5 separate regions of the Homo sapiens genome follow, and regions 2, 3, 4 and 5 are each linked to region 1. Evidence: promoter capture Hi-C in 16 types of primary human blood cells and fetal thymus (Javierre and others, 2016). All regions are on one chromosome and are shown on one strand. Each heading gives the region's core, a stretch centred on a gene start or on the middle of the fragment in contact. The rest is flanking DNA. Distances are from core to core; before and after follow the strand shown. Region 1 holds the start of SLC35E3 (solute carrier family 35 member E3). Region 2 overlaps CPSF6 (cleavage and polyadenylation specific factor 6). Region 3 holds the start of IL22 (interleukin 22). Region 4 overlaps MDM1 (Mdm1 nuclear protein). Region 5 has its middle 49 kb from the start of MDM1.

The links. The method cuts DNA at HindIII sites, captures the fragments that hold promoters and counts their contacts. A CHiCAGO score of 5 or more calls a contact.
Region 2: a fragment that was not itself captured here is called in contact with the fragment with the promoter of SLC35E3 in region 1 in 1 of 17 cell types (M0 macrophages); the score reaches 7.1 in M0 macrophages.
Region 3: the fragment with the promoter of IL22 here is called in contact with the fragment with the promoter of SLC35E3 in region 1 in 1 of 17 cell types (megakaryocytes); the score reaches 5.7 in megakaryocytes.
Region 4: a contact is called between a fragment that was not itself captured here and the fragment with the promoter of SLC35E3 in region 1, in 4 of 17 cell types (erythroblasts, megakaryocytes, fetal thymus and 1 more). The highest score is 6.6, in erythroblasts.
Region 5: a fragment that was not itself captured here is called in contact with the fragment with the promoter of SLC35E3 in region 1 in 4 of 17 cell types (naive CD8 T cells, activated CD4 T cells, non-activated CD4 T cells and 1 more); the score reaches 9.2 in naive CD8 T cells.

The regions. Positions count from the first base shown.
Region 1 is chr12:68,744,882-68,747,532 of GRCh38, reverse strand. It overlaps SLC35E3 (solute carrier family 35 member E3), which reads right to left and starts at 1,357. Exons shown (of 5, transcript NM_018656.5): 1 at 754-1,357. The coding sequence starts at 1,155. NUP107 (nucleoporin 107) reads right to left here. Exons shown (of 28, transcript NM_020401.4): 28 at 1,724-2,651. RefSeq lists enhancers at 335-524, 885-994, 1,045-1,144, 994-1,684. The HindIII fragment of the contact is 13,773 bases long and covers 1-2,651 here.
Region 2 is chr12:69,254,114-69,256,764 of GRCh38, reverse strand. CPSF6 (cleavage and polyadenylation specific factor 6) reads right to left here. Exons shown (of 10, transcript NM_007007.3): 4 at 1-68. Among named protein-coding and RNA genes, the nearest start is that of CPSF6, 16 kb to the right of the region's middle. The HindIII fragment of the contact is 1,296 bases long and covers 680-1,975 here.
Region 3 is chr12:68,252,293-68,254,943 of GRCh38, reverse strand. It overlaps IL22 (interleukin 22), which reads left to right and starts at 1,340. Exons shown (of 6, transcript NM_020525.5): 1 at 1,340-1,361; 2 at 1,450-1,681; 3 at 2,115-2,180; 4 at 2,297-2,440. The coding sequence starts at 1,496. The HindIII fragment of the contact is 7,204 bases long and covers 1-2,651 here.
Region 4 is chr12:68,317,491-68,320,141 of GRCh38, reverse strand. All of the region lies in intron 7 of MDM1 (Mdm1 nuclear protein), which reads left to right. Among named protein-coding and RNA genes, the nearest start is that of MDM1, 14 kb to the left of the region's middle. The HindIII fragment of the contact is 5,517 bases long and covers 1-2,651 here.
Region 5 is chr12:68,379,670-68,382,320 of GRCh38, reverse strand. No RefSeq gene overlaps it. Among named protein-coding and RNA genes, the nearest start is that of MDM1, 49 kb to the right of the region's middle. The HindIII fragment of the contact is 1,909 bases long and covers 405-2,313 here.

The DNA.
Region 1 (2,651 bases), core at 108-2,607:
GCTTTCGGAGGCCAAGGCGGGCAGATCACCTGAGGTCAGAGTTCGAGACCAGCCTGATTAACATGGAGAAACCCCGTCTTTACTAAAAATACAAAATTAGCCGGGCGTGGTGGCGCATGCCTGTAATCCCAGCTACTCGGGAGGCTGAGGCAGGAGAATCGCTTAAACCCGGGAGGCGGAGGTTGCGGTGAGCCGAGATCGTGCCATTGCACTCCAGCCTGGGCAACAAGAGTGAAATTCCGTCTCAAAAAGAAAAAAAAAAAAAAGAAAAAGACCTTAAATAAGTTACTAAGTGCTAAAATTGAGTCCACCTCCTTTTATTTAAAGATGCAGACAGCTCTAAAGTATGGTGCTGCAGACGTTTTGAGACCTACTTTATGCTACATCTTTTCACGTTTTATCATACACGATTTGATTCCCCTGGGGGAGAAAGGCTGTTTTTGTTTGAGCTTTTGCAGATATTCTGATAACACTGGACTGTACCACCCAATACAGCTTTTTTTCTTATCGATCACAGCATTTAACGATTTCCATCAAATGGCAGCTACTAAAATTCACACATGCCCACTCTTCTGGGCTGACAAGATGGCCTTTTCCCCCTCCCTAAAATAAGCCTAAAAGTTCACATGCCCACAGATGACTCATTTGTGGATTTCAAGATGAAGGGAAAGACCAGTGTGCGTTCGAATTTCCCGGGGCCAGTGCAGGAGGTGGGTCGGGAGAGCGGCGCCTTGGGAAGCTGAAGCTACTCACCAGCGTGAGCTGGATTCTGGTGGAGAAGGTTTTCTGGTAGCAGAAGGTCTGGATGGCTATGATCACCGGCGTGGTCATGGCCTTGGCCAGCTGATAGGTGCCTATGGTGTTGTTCTGCAGAGAAAGGTTAGTGAAGACCACAAAGCCACAGAAGCTGAGGGCCAGGAGGAGGAGCCTGGAGGGCGGCAGACTTTTGGGGGCAAAGATGTCCAGCTTCTGGCAGATATACAAGCCCAGCCAGGTGACCACGAAGTGCACCAGGGTCAGGCTCATGTTGGGGAAGCCGTGGTACACATAAATCCATTTGTTGAGGAACACAATGCAGATGGACACCAGCAGGTTGAACAGGAGCCCGGCGGCGATTCGCCAGTGGCCCCGCACTCGGTCCACCAGCAATGCCATGATCCCCGCGAAGCTGGGGCCGTCTAGCCTCGGAAGGGGCGCCGGGCCTGTCTCCGGCTGCCCTTCTACTCCACCGCCGCGTCCTCGCAGACGCCGACCTCACCGTCTGACCCAGGAGTGGCATGCACAGATCAACCCCGGGCGAGTAGCACTCTTAACAGAGGACACACACCCCGCCGCCGCCCTGTAAGCCAGCTAGGACGCCGCAGCACGTCCCACGCCCCGCTCATCTCCGCCCGCAGCCACGTGACTCGGGGCTCCAGTGCTTCCGCCCCCGAGCCGCTGGCTGAACGGCCGCTACCCTGCGCAGGCGCGCTGAGCCTTGGGCGCGCGACGCTTGCGTCTTTGGGTCCTATCCTCTGGGTCCCCGACCCCCTTGGTCACCTAACGCCTACCTGACTGGACCAATCTAGGACCCCTTTCTTGATGTTTGTTTCCTGTGTGTCATTGACCCGATTTGCTAGACAACTTCTCTCTGGCTGTGCAGACACTGTTAGCCAATTTTACGTATTAAATGCTGAGCAAATTTAGTAGCCCTCGCCAGAGGGGGGAAAGAACTTATTGAAAGCATGTTTTTATTTTTTATTTTTGGAAAAAGACATTCAAAATTTACTTTCCAACAGACAGCATCATCGGGTATAACTACAAGGGTTTCTCCTTAGATCATACATTCACAAAGCATTATTAGCTCAACAGTGAGAAAATGTGTTCTCTAAAGATGTCCCCTTGACAATGTAAACGAGTGCTACTGTGTTCACTTACAACTCGAGAAAAAAACGTACAACCTGGCAAAACCGTATATATATACAGCTGTCTCTAGGGGTGCATACAAATATATATATATGTTTTGGATCAGGTCAGGTGCAATGACTAAGAGATAGAACTTTGAGTAACAGTCTTGATCGACAGTAAGGTCCTTCACACAGAAGTCAGGTTCTTCCTTTCTCCTTCCTCCTTAAGTCGATAAAGAAAGATTATATATTGTAGATATTACAGGTACAAAAGGAGATTTTTAAAAAAGGAATCACAAAAACATCTTGAATGTCCAGCTGTTCCTGCCAATACATCAATTCTTAGTTTTAAGACAGAGTCTAGGATTAATTCAGCAGTCATAAAATTAAAAAGAGAGACTGTGGTACAAAAAATTTAAAATAAATGAGGAAGTAGGGCATGGTGGCGTGGGCCTGTAGTCCCAGCTATTTGAGAGACTGACGTGGGAGGATTGCTTGAGCCCAGGAGTTGGAAGCCGGGATGGGCAACATAGTGAGACCCCCATCTCTAAATTAAATAAATAAATGAGGTAGGGAAATTAAAACTTTCACACCCAGGACATGCCTGTTCCAACTTTGTAGCCTTCATGCAATGCTCAAGGAAAAAGTCTTCATAATTCCTTGGCATAAGTCACACCAAGAAAAGTTTTTAAAACTTAGTATGCGAACCTGTGATAGGCAACACGCCCTTCCCTGAGTTTCCTCTCTAGAATGAAAACCCAGTTC
Region 2 (2,651 bases), core at 78-2,577, 510 kb before region 1:
CTCTTTTAGGTAACAGATCCATTAACTTTTTTGAAGATGCTTCAGATCCAACACCAACAAGGGCAAACCTAAAAAGTGTTTAAGGGGTGAGGATACAAAGTAAAAAGAGATCAATATTATTACTGTTATTCTTCTGTAAAAAGGTCTTAATCTGCTTTTATCTAAAACAACAGCTGGGCACAGTGGCTCATGCCTGTAATCCCAGCTGCTTAGAAGGTTGAGGCACGAGGATTGCTTGAGCCCAGGAGTTTGAGGCTACAGTAACCTATAATCACACTACTGCACTCCAGCCTGGGCAACACAGTGAGATCCTGTCTCTAAAAATAAATAATTTTAAAAACTAAAAATATTTCTTAACTATACGAGTACACATTTTTGTTCATCTTGTATAACATACCATAGAATTCAGTCATTCAAAATATATAATTCAGTGGTTTTTAGTATTTCACAGTGTTATAACCACCACCATAATCAATTTTAAAACATTTTCATCACCCCAAAAAGAAACTCCATATCCATTAGCCATCGCTCCCATTCCTTCCCATCCCTGTACCCTATGGAACCACTAAACCTAATTTCTGTCTCTGGACTGGCCTATCCTAGACATTTCATCTAAATGGAATCATACAATAGGAGGTCCCTTGTGACCAGCCTTCTTTAACTAGCATGTTTTCAAGCTTCATCCACTGTTACAGCATGCATCACCACTTACTTTTATGGGTGAATAATTTTCCATTATAAATATACAACATTAAAAGAAATGTATCCATCAGTTCATGGACATTTGGGTTGCTTCCACTTTTTGCTACAATAAAAAGATGTACAATATCATTAACTATTGGGGAAGTGCAAATCAAAACCACAAGATACCACCCCATACCCACTAGGGTGGCTATAATCAAAAAGACAAGTATTAAAGATGTGGAGAGGCCGGGTGCAGTGGCTCACGCCTATAATCTCAGCACTTTGGGAGGCCAAGGCAGGAGGATCATGAGGTCAGGAGTTCAAGACCAGCCTGACCAACATGGTGAAACCCCGTCTCTACTAAAAATTCAAAAATTAGCCAGGCATGGTGGCGTGTGCCTGTAGTCCCACGCTGGGAGGCTGAGACAGGAGAATCGCTTGAACCTGGGAGGCAGAAGTTGCAATGAGCCAAGATTGCGCCACTGCACTCCAGCCTGGGTGACAGAGTGAGACTCTGTCTCAATAAATAAATAAATAAATAAATATGTGGAGAAACTGGAACCATTGCACATTGCTGATGAGCACGTATTAATAAAATGGCACAATGCCTCTGGCAAATAATCTGGTAATTCCTCAAACATTTAAACATAGAGTTACTATATTAACCCAGTAATTCCATTCCTAGGTACACATCCAACAGAACTGAAAATACATGTTCACACAAAATGGGTACACAAATATTCACAGGGGCATTTTCCTTAATAGCCAAAAGTGGAAATAACCTAGACGTCCATCGACTGATAGATTAAAAGAAAAAAGTGCTATATCCATGTAGTGGAATATTACTCAGCCATAAAAAGAAATGCTGATGCATGCTTCAACATGGATGAACCTTAAAATCATTATGCTAAGGAAAAAAGCCAGTCACATAGGACTACGTATTTTATGATTCCATTTAGATGAAATGTCCAGAACAGGCATATCCAGAGCACGTTAGCAGTTGCCAGCAGATAGGAAGAGAGGAAATGGGAGTGACTGCTAACCAGGTACAAGGTTCCTTCTTGGAGTGATGAAATGTTCTGGAATGAGACAGTGGTAATGGTTGCTAAACTTCATAAATATAATAAATTATCATTGAATTGTACATTTAAAAGCCTGCATTTTATGGCATATGAATTATACCTCAAAAAGAAAAACAAATTTAAAATAATCAGAATGATTACCAATTCGTATAGTTACAGGATATTCTAAATTATTTGAGGGAGGGAGGGTCTTAGTAGCTTAAGAAGCTTAAGCTCTTTTCCCCCTAATGTTCAATATGATCTTTTAAATTATCCTTCTTATTTTAGTCAACAAGTTCTGCTGTTTGCACCAGGATTATCTTGGGTCACAACATTTAGAAAAAACTAAATTAATTTAACAAATATTTATTAAGCACCACTTCTTATACGCAAGGTACCATTCTAGAGCTGGAGAAGTAATAGAGAACAAAACAAAATCTCTGTTCTCATTAAGCTTAAAGGCTTGGAAGAGGAGACAACAAACGAGTAAAATATATCAGAGCAGAAATAAAGGAAACAGGATAGGAAGGTGCTACTTTGCACAAGATGGTCATGGAAGAAAACTCTTAAACAGTTTGAGTCCTGAATGAAGTCAAAGAGTAAGCCATGTGGATATTTGAGGGGGAAAAGTAAACCAAGAAGAGAAAACAGCTAAAGGTCCTAGGTAGGAATTGGTCTGGCCAACAGCAAAGAGACTAATGTGGCTGAAAAAGAGTGGTAGGATAGGGTTAGAAAGGTGGTGGGAAAACAGACCAGAAAGTACCTTGTAGACAATGGTAAAGAATGAGACAGACAGGAAACCATGAGAAGATTGAGCAGAATGTCATTTTTTTTTTAGAACTTCTGTTATGTGGAGTACAGACTGTAGGGGGCAGTCTATACTTCCAGTTAGGAAGCTACTGCCAA
Region 3 (2,651 bases), core at 91-2,590, 490 kb after region 1:
GATCATGTGGTGTTTTTTACTCTCACTAATCTTCATTTTTGCTTCTTTCTCCTCTGGCCACCTTCACAAATGCTCAGTGTCCTCATGTGGTTCCGACCCTTTGCAGTGGCACCTTGCTTAGGTCTGTGCCATCTCAAAAAGTGGTCTAGGTTTTACAATTATTTACATCCCTACTTCCAGTTCTTCAACACTCCTGATCTTAACTAGTTGTGAGGAGAAAAATCTGATTATACAAATTTGCACTAATTCACATTCCTTCCCTCAGCAATAGGTATTTGCATTTTGATACTTGCATTTGCTTCCTTGCTCTGCGGGAGAATTTCCAGTCTAGTTTTAGGTGTATTTTTAAATAATTTGAAGGTAACGCGGAACCTCTATATTCCTATATTCCCTTCTTCAGACATCCATGTGTGTGTGTGTATATATGTATATATATAAAATGTTGCATATATATGTATATATATAGTATACACACATATATAATATATATACACACACATATATAGTTGTTATAGGATTATTTGGAAATATTATGTTGAGACTTGTGTGAAGTGTAGAATTAGGTAAAATTTTAAGATGAACTATATCCATGGTATTCTTTTATTTTAAAAAAAGTTTACATGTTAAGAAAAAAGGAGATCAGATTTTCAGCATTAGTATTTACAAACTTAAGTTGATATTGATTATAATTCAATTAATACAATTTTAAGATATATTTACTTCTGCCTTAATTGTTATGATCACTTAAAAATAGTTCCAAAAAGGGAAGAAAACAATAATTAGATTAGCCAAGACAGTTATTTTTGAAACATAAGTCTGGTTTAGAATTCAGCATGTTTAAAAATGAGATAAAATTATTTTAATAATGGAATGATCTGTTAGCTGTCATTACCATTTACTTTAAAGCAGAGGATATAGGACATGGGTCCTTTTTTTCTGATCACCTCCAATGAGATAAGAATCTATAAAGCTGGTAGGAAAATGAGTCCGTGACCAAAATGCTTACTCAGCCACTATAGGAGATCAAAACATTTTATACTAAATCTGAACTCTACTAAGACAAAACAATTGTGTTCTTTGAAAAATATGTAGGGTTTAGAAAATTTCTGGGATTTGTCTGTAAAATACCCTCCGGGCTCTAATAGTGACGTTTTAGGGAAACACTTGCATCTCAAGGTGGAAAGGATAGAGGTGGTGTTTTGTGGGCTCCTGTGGTGGTTAGGTCGTTCTCAGAAGACAGTACTGGAAATTAGATAATTGCTGATGTCATATTTTTCACAATTAAAAAAAAGTCAGTATCCTGGGGGCTATAAAAGCAGCAGCTTCTACCTTCCCCGTCACAAGCAGAATCTTCAGAACAGGTAAGCGTTTCGGCAAACTTGGTACAATTGGTTAGTTTGATGAAATACTTCTTGACTAATTTTGTTCCTTCACGTTGTCTTCGACCAGGTTCTCCTTCCCCAGTCACCAGTTGCTCGAGTTAGAATTGTCTGCAATGGCCGCCCTGCAGAAATCTGTGAGCTCTTTCCTTATGGGGACCCTGGCCACCAGCTGCCTCCTTCTCTTGGCCCTCTTGGTACAGGGAGGAGCAGCTGCGCCCATCAGCTCCCACTGCAGGCTTGACAAGTCCAACTTCCAGCAGCCCTATATCACCAACCGCACCTTCATGCTGGCTAAGGAGGTATACATCTCAATCCTGCTCTTTCTCGTTGGATCTACTTGGAATCCAAATAGTTCTTAAACTTTTCTTCAGAGCATCTCTAAGAGCTTTAGGAACCCACTGTTTATCCCTGAGGGTAGATAAATTTTCTGTTTTTTCAGAGACTCTTTGGGAATCTGGCTTTTTTTTTTTTCTTGAACTTCTTCCTTCCATTTTGGCCTTTATGATACATATGATGAATTTTTCCCAAAGAGCGGCCATTCAGTAATCCATCTGATGATTTTTTTTTTCCTTTATGCCTCTGTGCATTGTTCTAAACTCATGCACACATCTGAATTCTGCTTTTAGTCTTTATGATGTTGCTCTGGGGAGACGGGATGGGGCACATGTCTATGTATAAATTTTTTTTCTATTTGCTCAATGTCCAGACCCTTAGTCTTTTCTTCTCTTCCAGGCTAGCTTGGCTGATAACAACACAGACGTTCGTCTCATTGGGGAGAAACTGTTCCACGGAGTCAGTGTAAGCTACAGTTGTGACGAACAGGGCCGTGTGCCGTCCATGGGTACTTGGGGTGGTGGTGATGATGGTTTAGGTCTTATCCCTTATGACCCTTTCTGTTTCCCTTCCACCTGCAGATGAGTGAGCGCTGCTATCTGATGAAGCAGGTGCTGAACTTCACCCTTGAAGAAGTGCTGTTCCCTCAATCTGATAGGTTCCAGCCTTATATGCAGGAGGTGGTGCCCTTCCTGGCCAGGCTCAGCAACAGGCTAAGCACATGTGTAAGTTCAGCTCTCAGCCTATGCCCACCTACCCCTCCTTCCCTCCTTCCACAGAGACCCCCTTACCCCAACTCTCTCTCCTTCCCCCTACCCCTAAGCTAGCAGGAAGAAGTGTCTTGGCAGCAGTGTTATCAGGAGTCATTTGGGATCATAGAGTATTTGCTTTTGCTTTGACTGAGTCACATCTTGAGTTTATAGTGGTGAATGGGGT
Region 4 (2,651 bases), core at 100-2,599, 430 kb after region 1:
GAAAAGCAGGACAGAGGCAGAACAGTATGTGTGGCTGGTAAATTGATGTCAGCCGCTGGCCTGTTGTGTTTAGGCGTGACACTAGGTTGAGGTTATGAGAAACTCTTTGTTTTGAAGACTGTGTTTTCTCTGAGATTTCTACGCTTGATCTCAGCCAAAAGGCCGAGCAGCGATTTCTTTAAACTAAGATGAGTTTAGGCATCAGAACTAAACATCTAATTGAGAAGATTGTTAAAACTGAAGTCATAGTAAGATGAGATTCCTTATCCTGCCTTGATGGAAGAGAACATTGTTGTTGTCAATTTAAGATAGACTTTTCAAGGTTTCCTATTATGATATCTTGGTAATGCAGCTTTTTTTGCTTATTAAATACTATAATGGTGGTTGTAAATATTTAAATTAGTGGTATAGTTTGCCTTAATTTCTTTGAGAAAAATAATTCAAAAAGTAAATTGAAGTTGGAAAAGAATAAGAATTTTTAGCTAAGAAGTCAGTGATCATTGATGATAACAGTTTTAGTTGACCAGGTTATAGACATTTAATATGAGCCATGTTTTACTTATATCTCTTGGAAGTCATTTACTATAGGCATCTGATTATGAGGTTCCTAAATATAAGGTACAGTACTCCTTCATTTTCCCACTCCTAACATTTCAGGAAGGAGTGTATTCACACTCCTCACATGCACTCAGACATAAGTGACTTTGTTGTTGGAATATTAACTCACTTTTTGAGTCACATTAGTTTTCGAGTCCATATATCATCTTTATTTCTTTCTATGTTTGAGATATACTTTTTGAATCTGTTTATAGTCTAGTCACTGGAAATTCTATGCCAAGTCCCAGTTACCTCTCATAGAGCATTAGGGTGGTTGGTTTTATTTGCCCAGTGGTTGTGTATTTGTCATCTCCATTATAATAACCACTTGACTATTGCTTTTTAAAATGCTCACTTAAGGGATTGTTTCTTAATAGTCAGCAATTAGAACTTTTTAGGTTCTATCCTCAGAATAACTACTTAATCTATGTTAAACTTCTTTTTTTCTTAATTGTTAGGTAATCTTTTCATCATCGATTGGTTGAGGTGATTTTATTCCAATGTGTCTTCCACAAATAGGACTGTGTTTCAAGATAAAGTCCTGCATTTGAGAGATGTCCTGTAATTTGACAGACATTGTAAAGACTAGGTATAAAGTGACCCCTCATTTTGGGGGGATGGTTTTTGGGTAAAAGGAGTTTTTATCCCCAGTTTCTTGAGTTTGAATTTTCTGCATATGTTTTAAATAATTTAGTTGAACTCTTAATTTGGACAAAGAAATTCAGAAAAGGAAACATTCTACTTATAATTGTATCATAATATATAATATGATAACATTACTTGGCCCAGAAAGGTGTGTGTATGTTGTTGAGTTGGGAATGGTTTATTTCTATCCTTTTTGGTGGCTCTGGCAGTTGGCTATAGGGATTGTTCTATTTAACATTGAGTTCATGCTATTGATTTTTTTCCTCCTCTTTTTAGTAGAACATACTACTTTGGAAAATGTCAGCCTTTTAATTTTTCATCTTAGTTTAGGGCTAAAGATATTTAAAATCATATTTGTAAAATATAATATTAGCACTGAGATTAATAAAGATTGTTGATATAGTAAATTTAAAGCACTTAGTTTTAAATGTCAGTAACAAATAGAACTGAATAAATCAAAGTCTTCAGAATTTTTATGAAGTATACTCTCCCCCTCCTTTCTAAATAAAATTGACGTCAAATAAAACTGGATGACTGTGTACATGGAGGGTATTCATCCATCCTTTCATTCATCATGCATGGATAGATGCAGCTGCCTCTGCTGTCCCTTCCACCCCCACTGCCCCGTCAATCTACCCAACACAGTGCAGGACTGATTGGTCCCCCTTTTGAACTACTCCTTCAACTTACATTTCATTTCATTTGTTTATTATGGCATAGACCCCCATCAATATTATGACAATTTATGTACAGGTTGGCTCACTGAGTGCAGGGAGTTTCTTGCTTATCTTTGGCTGCCATGTTTAGCTCAGGCATACCACTTAGTCTGCACTCAGGACAGGTTGTGGGCTCAGTGCTTAAGTGCTGCGTTTTCCCTCACCTCAAGAAGTTCATAGGTTGATGGAGGAGGAGGGCATGTGCAATTAATTCCAGTAAAATTGAATATGTATTAATGGGGATGTGCCCAAAGAACTCTGAGAACACAGAGGAGGAAGTGATGCTGAGGCATGTAGGTGATGGAGTGGCCCTGAAACATTTGAAGCATGGGGGCACTTACTGGCAATAAAATCTGGAGTATATCGAGGCACTTTATAACAAGGTTCCTGTGCATTCAGAATACCCTGGTTAGAAGTTCAGTAGAGTTAATTCATGTACCTCACTTCTACCTGTTAAATGCAAAAACCACTGCTAGAAATTTTCTTTAAAGGTATAGGAGTTGATAGAAATGATAAATGAACATAGCTTTTTTTTTGGCAGTGAAGAAAATATTTCAAATTATCCTTTAGGAACTTTTTTCAGGTATGGTTCATTAGAGTAGGACTCTGTTGGGATTATATGGTTTCTTATGCCATATAGGTGCTGTCTTTTGCTTTGGCCAATTCCCTAGAGATGTAACACTTTCATCTTTG
Region 5 (2,651 bases), core at 110-2,609, 370 kb after region 1:
TCTCTGAGGATGAACCAGACATTGGAAGTTGTAGCCTGGGATTGTACTGGAGCTCTCACTGTGGTTGCATTCTTTCTTCACATTCAGCGTCCTCCTTAAAGCACACATTTTCACGTACATCTATTAAATTACCTGGGAGAGAGTTCTAGACACTATCAGTCAGTAAATCCAGTTGTCTCATTTTTCAGTTTTAGCTATTGTTGCGGTCATATGCCAAGGCTTGTATGAATGAAGGGTCTATAAAAATATCTGCTGTGGTGTGATTTTTTTTATCCTTGTATGAGACCATAGCATGAGACAGTAGACTGGCAAATTGGCAGGGCGAGGAGAGTGTTTGTGCTTACACGGGGCAATGAAAAGAGTTTTGATTCTTCTTTAGCTAAATGTTATAAAACTTTAAAGCTTACATTTGAATAATCGTTGCAGATGGGTTAGATAAAATCCATCAACTCACAATGTTTTTCCTGTTTCCATTCACTAGTGAGTAACAAGGTTAAAAGAAGGAATGTTCTATAAAATAAGATATAGAATTTGGGTTAGGTTTACAAGTGAAGAGTTCCTCTTTGCCCTGCCCCCAAATTATTTTTAGGCCCCAGGCCTCTGAAGCCAAGGTAATCTGCAGGGCAGCTTTCACATTTTATCACAAGTCAGTGGTCTCTCCTCTTCCTTGTCCCTCCTATCTTGCCGGCAAATGGCTCTGTGGGAAACCCATTCTGCTTCCTGTTTAAACTGTAGAAACAATTCATTTAATTCAATATCTAGCTTTTGATTCTATTTGCAAAAATACAGTTGTAAATAGTTCCATTCATTAGCCAATTTTTTTTTTGGTCTGTTAAGCATATTTGGGTCATTTTATAGTTAACCTTGGCTGAGGGAGAGAAGTTCTTTGAAGCTCTTACTTACTTACTTGTGAATTTTTGGGTCTGATATGGAGGCTTTGCAGGTCAGAAGCATGGCTTGACTGACCCAATGCCCATTTCTGGCTCTCTTCATCCTCGCTGACCTCTACAGTAGAGAAAGGAGAAGCTGAATATTCACTGCTCTAACCTCCCTTGAAGCAAGGGGTGGCCTTGTAACAGTTCTGGCCAATGTGGCATAAGCAGAATTCTGCTGAGGTGGGTTTTGGGAACGGCTTTTGATTTCCTAATAAAAGAGGCCAGAACTGCAGGCACTATTCTTTCCACCCCTCTTGGTCTTGAACATGGCTACAATGTCTGGATCTATAGCAGTCAGCTTGCAACTTTGAGACAATATGCCAATCTAAAAATGGTAGAGCAGAATTATAGATGAACAGATGAACCCTTGGTTTTTATTAGATCATGGAGCCCCATATTATACAGTACTGCTTCCCTTTAGACATCATACATGAAAAATAAATCCCTTTGTGGTAGGTTTAATACAAGGCCACAAATTCTTTGACACTCCTCCCAGCAAAGTCTAATTCACCCTCCCTTGAATATAGGCCAGCCTTACCCACTTGATTCTAACTAGTAGAATTCAGTAGATGTGACACTGCATGACTCTCCATGCTAGGTTCACAAGTGATGCGGTTTCTGCCTTTTTCTTCTCTCTGACATGTGCCTTGGGAGCTTTGAGCTGACATGTTAGAAGTCAGTCTACATTGAAGCTGCCATGCTGAAGAACTCATGTGGGAGAACACACAGAAATCGAGATGCCTGAGGAGCCCCAGCTGTACCAGCCTCTAGCTCTCTGAGTCTTCTCAGCAAGAACTGTCAAACATGAGAGTGAAGCAGCCTTCAGATGACTCTGGCCCCAGTCTTCAAGTGCCCTAGCTGGTGCCAAGTGGAGCAGACAAGCTGCCACCCACCAAGCCCTTCCCAAATTGCAGACTAGGAACAAAATAAATGTTATTTTAAGCCACTAAATTTTGGTTTGTTATATATTATAGCAATAGAAAACCAGAACCCCTTTTTTTAATGCCACTGTTAGTTGGATATTCTGTTACTTGCAGCCAAAAGCATCCTTATGTGAAATACTTAGTAGTAGAGAAGATTAAAAGAAATCACTAAAACGATCCTTTTGAGTTGCTATATGTGTTGATTATCCAATCTATTCCTCTCTTATTCTGTTTGTAGCAATCCATTTCACTGTAGCACTGATATCATAACTTCCCATTGAAGTCAGTGCTGCTTTAGTTGTATAAAGGTTTTATTTACAAAAGGGCTGGGCTAGTAGAAACATGGAAAAAGAGGGACTTCAATTCAGGGCCCCATACTGCTGTTTTCCTGCTCTTTTGGCATTTTGATTATAATAAAGACAATATTAGTAACTTCTTCACTAGGAGGTAAAGCTTGAGAGTTCCTAACTTTATAAAACTCTCATCAATGTTTGAAGCTGCTTTCTTAATGAAATGCTCCTAGCATTTGACAGCTTTATTTTTTTCATTGACATTTGCAGCTTTTAAAATAGATGAATATTTAATATCATGTTTAATAGGTCAGATTCTTTGAAGAAAATTTCCATTAATTAGTTCCCATTTTCTAAAGAATTGATGGTCACTCAGTATTGTTGGAATTCTTAAAAAGGTTTTAATCATAAATTTATTTTTAAGTCTGGCGTATGGAAACTAGCAAGGTTGTTCTAGGTTAATATACATATCCTTACATGGGAGCTACACTATAAATTAAAAA